3 separate regions of the Homo sapiens genome follow, and regions 1 and 2 are each linked to region 3. Evidence: promoter capture Hi-C in 16 types of primary human blood cells and fetal thymus (Javierre and others, 2016). All regions are on one chromosome and are shown on one strand. Each heading gives the region's core, a stretch centred on a gene start or on the middle of the fragment in contact. The rest is flanking DNA. Distances are from core to core; before and after follow the strand shown. Region 1 holds the start of ZNF639 (zinc finger protein 639). Region 2 holds the start of MFN1 (mitofusin 1). Region 3 overlaps FXR1 (FMR1 autosomal homolog 1).

Region 1 (3,253 bases), core at 562-3,061, 1.6 Mb after region 3:
CTCAGCCGAACATGTTAAGTAGTCTCTTGTTATTTCAGAATGCATCTCAAGTTCTTTGCAACTTGAAGAATAAAAGTAAGAAAAGGAAACCAAGCGTGGTATTAAAATCAACGTTGCAAGCTGGCCTGGATTCAGGCTGTTAGGTGAGAGGAGGAGGCACACGGATCAGGAAGGGTCTGACTCCTACTTAGGGCCGAACGATAACCAAATGTCTATCGGACTTCCTTTCAGCACAATGGTGATGCCTACTCAAGACCAAAAATGCTAACCATCCTTCATTTTAGCAATCATTTTTATGTGCCTTTTGTGTGCATAACAGCCTTGAAAAAACTTAGCTTTCTACTCAAGGATGTCATAAACATTTGCTCACTAGTCTTCTTAGCAGGAAGATTCTGAATCACAAGCAACCTATCACAGTCCCCCCTCCCTCTGAAATACAAACGACATATGTAACACGTGTCACTGCAGAAAAATCAGAAAAATGTTTAAAAATTTTTTATATCACCTAGAAACCAACATCTTTCCACCTGTCATTTTTTTCAACCAACAAGAAAGTCTATGCACAAAATAGAATACATACAACAGGCAGTCAGCAATCATCAAATAGATAAACGTTTCAAAAGGCCTTTCATGCAATGTATATTCTTCCTAATTGCTGTAAGACGTCTTTACAGTAAATAACTCCATTTTTAACGAGTTTAAAAAGAGTTAAGCTTTCTTTTTCGTTCTCATTAAAATAAGCATATGCTTTAAATTGTAAAAGAATTGAAACAAAAACATGTTGCAGGAGAGCCTGAACTAGAATCCACTACATGTCCAACGTGGAGGCAGTCTTTACTGCAATATCACACGGTCACTAAATACTTGATTCGCTATTTTTCAGTCCGGCATAAATCTTTCTCTTCGAAAAAAACAAAAAAGGCATAAACTGCTTCAAATGATTCGTTTCCCTAGACAGTACTTAAAGACAAAACCAAAAAAGGGGGTTTCTAAGCACCGTCACACGAGTGAGGCGACTCTCAGGCTGGAGGCTTTGGGCGCCAGCATCGACGCCTGCTCTCCGCGGCTACAACTCGTTGCGCGAGCCCGGGGATTCGCCGCCGGAGGTCACGAAGCCGCCGGGCAGGGCCGCAGCGCCAGCGAGGACCCAGGATCGTCCCGAGCCCGGACGCAGCCAGACAAATGCCCGTCGGAGGCGCAGGGCAGAAGTCCCTGGGACTTAGCCGCCTCCACCCCGGCGCCACGCACCAGCTTCGCCCGGGCCCAGAAGCCGGCGCCAAGGAGACTTCCAAGCCCCGACACCAAAGGTTCCGTAAAGACAACGGCAGCAGGGGGCCGAGGGGAGCCCGGCCAAGGCGTCCTGCGCAGGGGGTGGAACTGCCTTCGGGATGGGGGAGGGGAACGCCATCCCGCCATATAACGAAGGCAGAGTTTCCGTATAAAGGGAGCTCCGGTCTCTCCCGCCCTCTCCCGTTAGAAGATGCGCCCGCACGCCCGCGTCCCCTGGAGCAGTCCAGCGCCCGACCCACCCGCTCCTCCCTCACACTCACCAGTCAGTCCCCCGAGGCCCTCCCGGCCGGCCCACGCAGAGGCGGCGGCGGCCGAGAGCGCAGGCGGAGGGGCCGCGCGGTCCTTCCCGCGGACGCACGGCGGCGGGCAGCGCTGCTCCGGCCCTAGCGCTCCCGGACGCTGTGCTGGGCCGACCCCTCTCCCTCCCCGCGCGCCCCACGCCCTGAGCGCCAGGCCCCTGGCCTAGGCTCCGCGGCCGCACTGCCCTGGCCGCCACGCTCCGCGCCTGCGCCGCGCACCTCAGGGGCCCGCCGAGAGGGCGGGGAGGTGACGAGGTGAGGTGGGGGCAGGGAGCGGGCTGCGCGAACGCACCGCACACGCGGCCTGGGAGGGACCACCGGCCCGCAGCCCCGGGGGAGGCCCAGCGGCCCGCGCCCCCTGCCGGAGGCCTTGCGCCGCCGCAGTCTCCTTCTGGGCGGGGAAGAGCCCCTCCCGAGCCCCGAGGGCGATCCCACCCTCTAGGATTACTCCACGCCAGGCGGCCAGCGAATTTATCCCGCCCGCCTCCACCGCCCCTTCAAGCCCTGGGGAACTGGGAGAAACGTGGCGCGCAGCGGCACCTTTCCCACGCTGCTCCTCAAGGGAAAGGACGCGAGTGGTCTTGCCCAGGTTAGGCAAGGCAGATGGCATCTCAGACCCCGAAGTGTGCCAGCCGCCTGTTGGGGACAGAGAGGCCGAGGACCTCGTCACGGTTTTACTGAGGCCACACCAGAGAACCACCTAGGGCTAGGATGCTGCCCTCAGGGCAAGAGGGTGAAACCTGAAGACTGCGAGTCGTTGTTGAGTTTCACCCGATTCCTTGGCTCGAGAAATAGTGGAATGAATGAGGAGTTAAGGGGGACTGGACTCGACGATTTAAGTCCTTTCTCGACTTTGACTTTCTTTGAGCAGCTGTAGAAATGATTAAATTACACGAGCATAAATAAATTTGTGAACATGGTTCCATAAATGATCTCTGTGCAAGTGTGGTGATATGTTTAATTCAGTCCTTTTGACAATGAGTTGAGGTTTTTAGTCACATTTTACAAAATGGAAAAGTAAATGTGTGAGAAGCTAAAGACTGGGTCTTAATTCATTTTGGTAGCCTAAACCCCTGAGGTTCAAACGGTTAAGAGGATGACTGAGAGCCATGTGGATTATCAGGTACCCAAGGTCACTCGGATAGTTAGGGCTGCAATGATGTCTCTTTGTTCACGTCCACTGCTTTTTCTGACAACCACATGCCAATCAACCAATCAATCGCTGGAAAGTAATAATCACAGACTTTACTCTGATCCCTTCACCATCCCCCAGGAGATAAAGCTATATTTGAAAGAGACACTACTTGTTTGTGAGGCTCAGTTTTTATGACCTCCTAAGTTTTATGTGCGTACTCAGCTCAAATAAATGCTCACGAATGCTAGTATGGCCCGAATTAAAGTTCGAAGAAATGTAGAGACATTTTTAAATCCTAGAATAGTTAGTATCTAGCACAGAACCGGGAATCGGTGGAAACCACAAGGGGGTGTCATGCCACCATCTTACCATTTTGCCTTACCACATAGCCTTGTGTCCAACAAAATCTTTATATTTCAAAATGAAGTTTTACTCCAAAACATTTTGTAGTGAAAGTAAACGCACACTCTCCCCAGCATCCCACGTATTGTTTGCACTTAGAGGAGCTTGACTTTGTTTAGATGTTGTT
Region 2 (3,184 bases), core at 40-2,539, 1.6 Mb after region 3:
CAGTAATTACTTTAAAAACTTAAGAAGAACTAACCTTCAACAAAATGTGATCCTTCAGTAACAAACTCCAGTAACTGGTCAAAGATTGCAGTAATCGCCTTCTTAGCCAGCACAAAGTGCTTCAGTGGAGAAACAGGTTCTGCCATTATGCTACTAGAGGGAGATAAAGTTAGAAAAGCACCAACTAAAGTGGATGATAGACATGCAAACTGATGACACACCAGTGACATTCATCAACTCCCCAATGAAATAAATTATGCTGGCAAAATGTTTTTAGGTAATTCTTTTTTGGGAGTGTTCTAGTCAGACAGTTAGAGACGACTTTTGAATGATATTTCACTAAAATAAGTGAAATCTATTAGCCAAAATCTTGGTTGCAATTTCTACTCAATTTCCCTTTGGTGAAGACGAAACTAATTGTGACTAAGTTTGTCACTGCATGTGACTCTAAAGTACATCAGGGAACAGGGTTAGTGAGGCGAAGCCAAATTCACACACAATAAGGAAGTTACTAAGTTTCTCAACCTGAAGCTCTAGGTGAGTAGGAGTGGATATGCAGAGTGAGGAAATAAAATTCTAAGATCACAATGTGAGGCTGACATTTAGAAAGGTAAGGCTTCAAGAGGGCATTAACGCTTCCAGCCAAAGTACCAGAAACTTCAAGGACTATAAGTTTAAGAAAGCATAGGTGGTTTCTCAAGAAAAAGACACCAAAGACAAACAATCACGGTCTAATCCTGGTGTGTACATGGAAAGGAACAGTGGCCATAAAGAAGGCGGATTCTTCCAGAGAGTCAAGAAATGACCGCGCGAAGGAGCTGCGTGGGAAAAGCCGGGTGGGGGTAACGCCCCGGTCCGGCCGGTGTGAACACCTGCCTTAGAAAAGGCCTCCCACCTTCCCACACCGGGCGCAGGAGTCAGGGCCAGAGCCCACCCCCGCCCCGCGCACGACCGTCTAGGTCCGGATCCCCCAATCCCACCCCCGAGCACGGCCTCGTGGGCTCCGTGGGCTCGACTCGGCCGCCAGCCCCGTTCGCCCGACAGCTGGCTCTCTCCTTTCCCACAGGACCGCGGCGGGCGGCGCCTCGTCACACAACGCTGCATGCACGACTCCCGCCCCCGGTCCCCAGTCGCTCGAAGGTCACTCCGAGCGTCGCAAACGTGCTGTCGAGGCAGCCGGCACTCACAGTCTCCGCTCCAACTATCACCCGGCAACAGCAACTCGGCCACAGATGCCAAACTGCCTCATCTTCCCGAGAAGTTAAAGGCGGAGAGGAGGCAGGGGGAGTGGCAAAGGGCGGTCACTTCCGGCCTCTTGCCTCCTCTGTTCTGTTTGGCTCCGTGGCCGGAAGCGCATCTATGCCAGGCGCCATTTTCCTTAAGGGCAGAAGGCAAGGTTTGTTGTGGGCAGAGACTGCTACCAGGAGAGTGGTTTTCCGTTCCCCCTTCCAACTTCTTCCCCTCCCTTCTCCCCTCAAAGTGTCCAAGTATCTGCCCAGCCTAGGCTTAGCTAGCTTCCAATGATGGTGGTGGCTGACGCCTATAATCCCAGCACTTTGGGAGACCGAAGGGGTGGGATATCTCTTAAGCCCAGGAGTTCGAGACTAGGCTGGGCAACATAGGGAGGCGCCCCCCCCCCCGCCCCCGACCCTCTTCCTCCTCCCCGTCTCTACAAAATTAAAAAATGAAAAATTAAAAAAATTTTAAAAACTTAGCGAGGCGTGGTGGCACACACCTGTGGTCCCAGCTACTTCGGAGACTGAGGCGGGGGGATTGTTTGGGCCCGGGGCTGCAGCGAACTGTGATTTATCGTGCCACTGCACTCCAGCCTGGGCAAGAGAGCGAGACATTTTTTCAAATAAATAAATAAATAAATAAAAGAAAAGAAATCCAGATCGTATTACTTTCCGAACTTAAAAAGCTTTCCAGGCCGGGCGGGGTGGCTCACGCCTGTAATCCCAGCACTTTGGGAGGCCGAGGCGGGCGGATCACAAGGTCAGGAGATCGGGAGCATCCTGGCTAACACGGTGAACGCCCGTCTCTACTAAAAATACAAGAAGTAGCCGGGCGTGGTGGTGGCGGGCGCCTGTAGTTCCAGCTACTCAGGAGCCTGAGGCAGAGAATTGCTTGAACCCGGGAGGCGGAGGTTACAGTGAGCCGAGATCGCGCCACTGCACTCCAGCCTGGGCGACAGAGCCAGACTCCATCTCAAAAAAAAAAAAAAAAAAAAAAAAAAAAAAAAAAAAGCTTTCCAACAGCTTGCCATTATACTTAAAATTAAAGCTTCGGATGGTAACCGCCCAAGGAAAGCCTTCACCTTGCCCGCTGACTAGCCAGAACTGATACAAGACAGGGGGATTGCAAATAAAGACTTAGTCACGCAAAGCCGGCTGTATGGGAGACTGGAGTTTTATTATTACTGAAATCAGTCTCCCCGAGCAGCACTGGGGAGCAGAATTTTTAAGGACAATTTGGTGGGTTGGGGGAGGCCACTGAGCCAGGAGTGCTGATTGGTCAGGGATGAAATCGCAGGGAGTGGAAGCTGTCTTTCTGCACGAGTCAGTTCCTGGGTTGGGGGACACTAGGTCAGATGAGCCAGTTTATCGGTCTGGGTCGTGCCAGCTAATCCATCAGTTCTGAGCATAGGTAGTCTCAAAGGGAACATTTACTCTGTTTGAATTTTAAAAATCATGATGGTATCCTTTTATTAGTTCTGTACTTAATAATTATATTTAATATAATTACTGCATTTTAAAGCAAGAGTGACATATTACAGGCTATAAATTATAGCACGGTAATTAAATGTTTAATATAGTAAGTAATAAGAAATTTAATCCATTGCTTTTGTGTGTGTGTGGAACACACATATTACCAAAAAGCCAGGAGAGTAAACACAAAGAAGGAAAAGAATTAAAATATAAACGCTAAAACCAACATAGATATTAACAAAAACTAACGTTATTTGAAAGAAATTATCAATTTGATGTATCACTGCCAAATCTGTTCAAGAACATAAAAAATGAAAGGACACAAATTAAGGGGAGAATAACTATAGATATATATATAAATGCCAACAAATTGAAAAGCTTAGATGAAGTATAAAATCTGGGAAAACATCAAATACCAAAATTAGACCGAGAAAAAATAGAAAACTCGAATAGGCTAAGTTTCCCACATATTCAAA
Region 3 (3,232 bases), core at 528-3,027:
CACCCAGGCTGGAGTGCAATGGCATGATCTCGGCTCACTGCAACCTCTGCCTCCCCGGTTCAAGCGATTCTCCCACCTCAGCTTCCCAAGTAGCTGGGACTACAGGCGCGTGCCACCACACCTGGCTAATTTTTGTATTTTTAGTAGAGACGGGGTTTCTCTATGTTGGCCAGGCTGGTCTCGAACTCCTGACCTCGTGATCCACGCACCTCAGCCCCACAAAGTGCTGGGATTACAGGCATGAGCCACGGCGCCCGGCCTAAGTTGACTTTTTAATAACTGTGATCACCATCAGCAAGATAGAGTAGAAAATCCCAGCCTTCCTTCCCCTCCACGTTTTGCAACTATCTGTGAATGAAAATAAAAGCTGTTGTGATCATTTATTTTGACATCCAGTTAAATCTTCATTACTTAGCATTTTAATGAAAATTATCTTTTTAAATATGCAAAACAACCATTTTAAATTATCTGGAACTATGTATTTTTAAATTAACAGGGTGGCCTAATATTAAGACAATTATCGTTTTTTCAATTACAAATCTCCACAATGAAACCAACTAACAAGATTCTGTACTAACCTTGAAAAGTCAGCATACCCTCTGAACGCAACTTTTTACTATAATTCTATTGGTCATCATTATTAATATATCTATGCATAATTTAGATTACGCTCAAATTCCACTTAATATTAAATCAAGCTAAACAGGGAATTATAGAAATATAGTACTTTGAGATTTGTTTTGTAGACAGTTACACGGTGGAAGCAGACAGCTCTAAAAGTAATTAACTCTGGCCAGGCGCGGTGGCTCACGCCTGTATTCCCAGCACCTTGGGACGCCGAGGCGGACAGATGGAGGCCATCCTGGAGATCGAGAACATCCTGGCCAACATGGTGAAACTCCGTCTCTACTAAAAATACAAAAAATTAGCTGGGCGTGGTGGTGCGTCCCTGAAATACCAGCTACTCAGGAGGCTGAGGCAGGAGAATCGCTTGAACCACTGAGTCAGAGGTTGCAGCCAGCCAAGATTGCACCACTGCACTCCAGCCTGGTGACAGAGCAAGACTCCGTCTCAAGAAAACAAAAAAATGTAACTCTACCTTCTGCAGAAAGTGACTGAAATCTCAGAGCTTACAGGTTCCCTTCGAACATCATGGAAACTTTCCTATGAGCCAGAAACTGAGTGACTTACTTCCAACTTCTATTTAAAATTATACTCATGGTCGGGCGTGGTGGCTCACACCTGTAATCCCAGCACTTTGGGAGGCCGAGGAGGGCGATCATTTGACGTCAGGAGTTCGAGGCCAGCCTGGCCTACACAGTAAAACCCCGTCTCTACTAAAAATACAAAAATTAGCCGGCCATGTTAGCACATGCCTGTTGTCCCAGCTACCTGGGAGGCTGAGGCAGGAGAATCACTTGAACCTGGGAGGTGGAGGTTGCAGTGAGCCGAGATCGCACCACTGCGCTCCCACCACTGTGCTCCCACCCGGGCAAAAGAGCAAGATTCTGTCTCAAAAAATAAAAATAAAATGAAATTATACTCAGCCCAAGGCCATACAAATTGCAATGCTATTACAAAGACTAATATATATTTATACATCAGTTAAAAAGCACTTTAATGATGCAAATGAGCCGGAGGTTTCTGTGGGGTAATGGAACGTTCTGAAGGAAGACTGTGGCGGTGGTTACACAACTCTGTAAATACACTGTCATTCAACTGTACACTTAAAAAAGGTTGTTTTATAGAATATACATTCTACCTCATTAAAACTTTCTTTTTCAAGACACCTTAAATGTCCAGTAGTATAAAACCTAAGATGCTACTTTAGGTATGAGAAGTACAAAAGTACAAAGCCTATAATGTTATTTTATATAACAGCATAGCCCACCAACAAATGCTTAATTAACATCTTCCCATTCTCTCTCATCCCCGCAGATTTATAGGGCTACGAACATGCACAAATCAAGTTTCTAATATCTCTAACTATAGAGCCACTGTTAAATGCAGAACAATGTATTTAGCATGCCACCATTTGTGTACATACTATTTTTTAAAGGCTACCCTAATTTTAGGTAAAATATTCAGATCTTCAGCGTTTCACTGGTTCCAATTAATTTGTGAAATGAAGTTTCAGTTCTACTACAAAAACTTTAATCAAAGTCTACAGAGTACTGCCTCAAGGCATGATAACTGACTTTGAAACTCATCAATGGCAATTCACACTTACGGCCAAATGTGTGTCTTCTGCCTATACGGGGTAAGAGGAGGGGAAAAAAGGGAAATTCAGATCACCTGTACATTGAAAAACCACCAAAAAAAACCAAAGAAATACACTAAAATGTTAACAGCTCTCATCTCAAGGCAACTTCTAGTTTTTGCTGAGTTCCAAAATTACCTCAGTGACCATGTATTATCTTCTAAATTGGAAAAAAACTAATTAAAATTAAATTGCTTCTACGCTAAATGGAAGCCGGACTCAAAACACTACACAATATAGTGTACGATTCTATATACGTAACGTTCTGAATAAGAAAAACTATGGGGACAGAAAACACTCTAGAAGCTGGGGTTGAGGAATGGTTGACTGAAAAGGGCATGACGGAAATTTGGGGGCTATGAATCTTGATAAATGCTGACACCACCACAGTTAAAGTGACAGTTAATCTTGATAATTGTCAGCATTTATCAAGATTCATAACCGTACACCAAAAAAGGCTTATTTTACTGTATGTAAATTAACATTAACTTTTACATTCTAATGAATAAAAAGCAATAAACTTCTGTGCAATAAGCCAATGGTTTTCAAGTCAGCAGTTTAATAGGATAAAAATATACTGGGGATCACAGAACTACTTCAAGCCCCTCATGTTAGACAGAGAGATTTGTTCAGGGGTCCATTGTTAGATAATGGTAAGGTGAAGTACAGACCTAGAATTCTCATCTGTTTACTTCAAATCCAGGACTCTTTTCCACTCCGCCATTCTCATTCTTCCAGAGTTCTGAAGACCACAGTTTCCACAAAGTGCATATGCAAGTGGATTATGGCTGGACATAAAATTCCAAATGTTCAAGCGTACATGATTTCAGTGCACACACAGGTGGCTAGTGTCCTTTCCAACCTTTGTCAAAGTACCAACTCACTTTGTGAGGCAAAATGAGTAATGGAGTCAAAGTCTAAGTAGAAACAAGCAGTAGATTGTAGATATGTATAGAGATCAATTATAAATAC

The links. Contacts are between HindIII fragments. The CHiCAGO score rates a contact against its expected background, and 5 or more counts as called.
Region 1: the fragment with the promoter of ZNF639 here is called in contact with a fragment that was not itself captured in region 3 in 1 of 17 cell types (naive CD8 T cells); the score reaches 5.3 in naive CD8 T cells.
Region 2: the fragment with the promoter of MFN1 here is called in contact with a fragment that was not itself captured in region 3 in 1 of 17 cell types (non-activated CD4 T cells); the score reaches 6.1 in non-activated CD4 T cells.

The regions. Positions count from the first base shown.
Region 1 is chr3:179,321,589-179,324,841 of GRCh38, reverse strand. It overlaps ZNF639 (zinc finger protein 639), which reads right to left and starts at 1,811. Exons shown (of 6, transcript NM_001303426.2): 1 at 1,551-1,811. RefSeq lists an enhancer at 852-901 and silencers at 1,472-1,611, 1,642-2,081. The HindIII fragment of the contact is 4,241 bases long and covers 716-3,253 here.
Region 2 is chr3:179,345,814-179,348,997 of GRCh38, reverse strand. MFN1 (mitofusin 1) reads right to left here and starts at 1,289. Exons shown (of 18, transcript NM_033540.3): 1 at 1,188-1,289; 2 at 35-153. The coding sequence starts at 146. RefSeq lists enhancers at 498-717, 1,051-1,580 and a silencer at 838-997. The HindIII fragment of the contact is 3,693 bases long and covers 1-1,923 here.
Region 3 is chr3:180,914,695-180,917,926 of GRCh38, reverse strand. The region is part of intron 1 of FXR1 (FMR1 autosomal homolog 1); the gene reads right to left. Among named protein-coding and RNA genes, the nearest start is that of FXR1, 3.6 kb to the right of the region's middle. The HindIII fragment of the contact is 4,178 bases long and covers 1-3,232 here.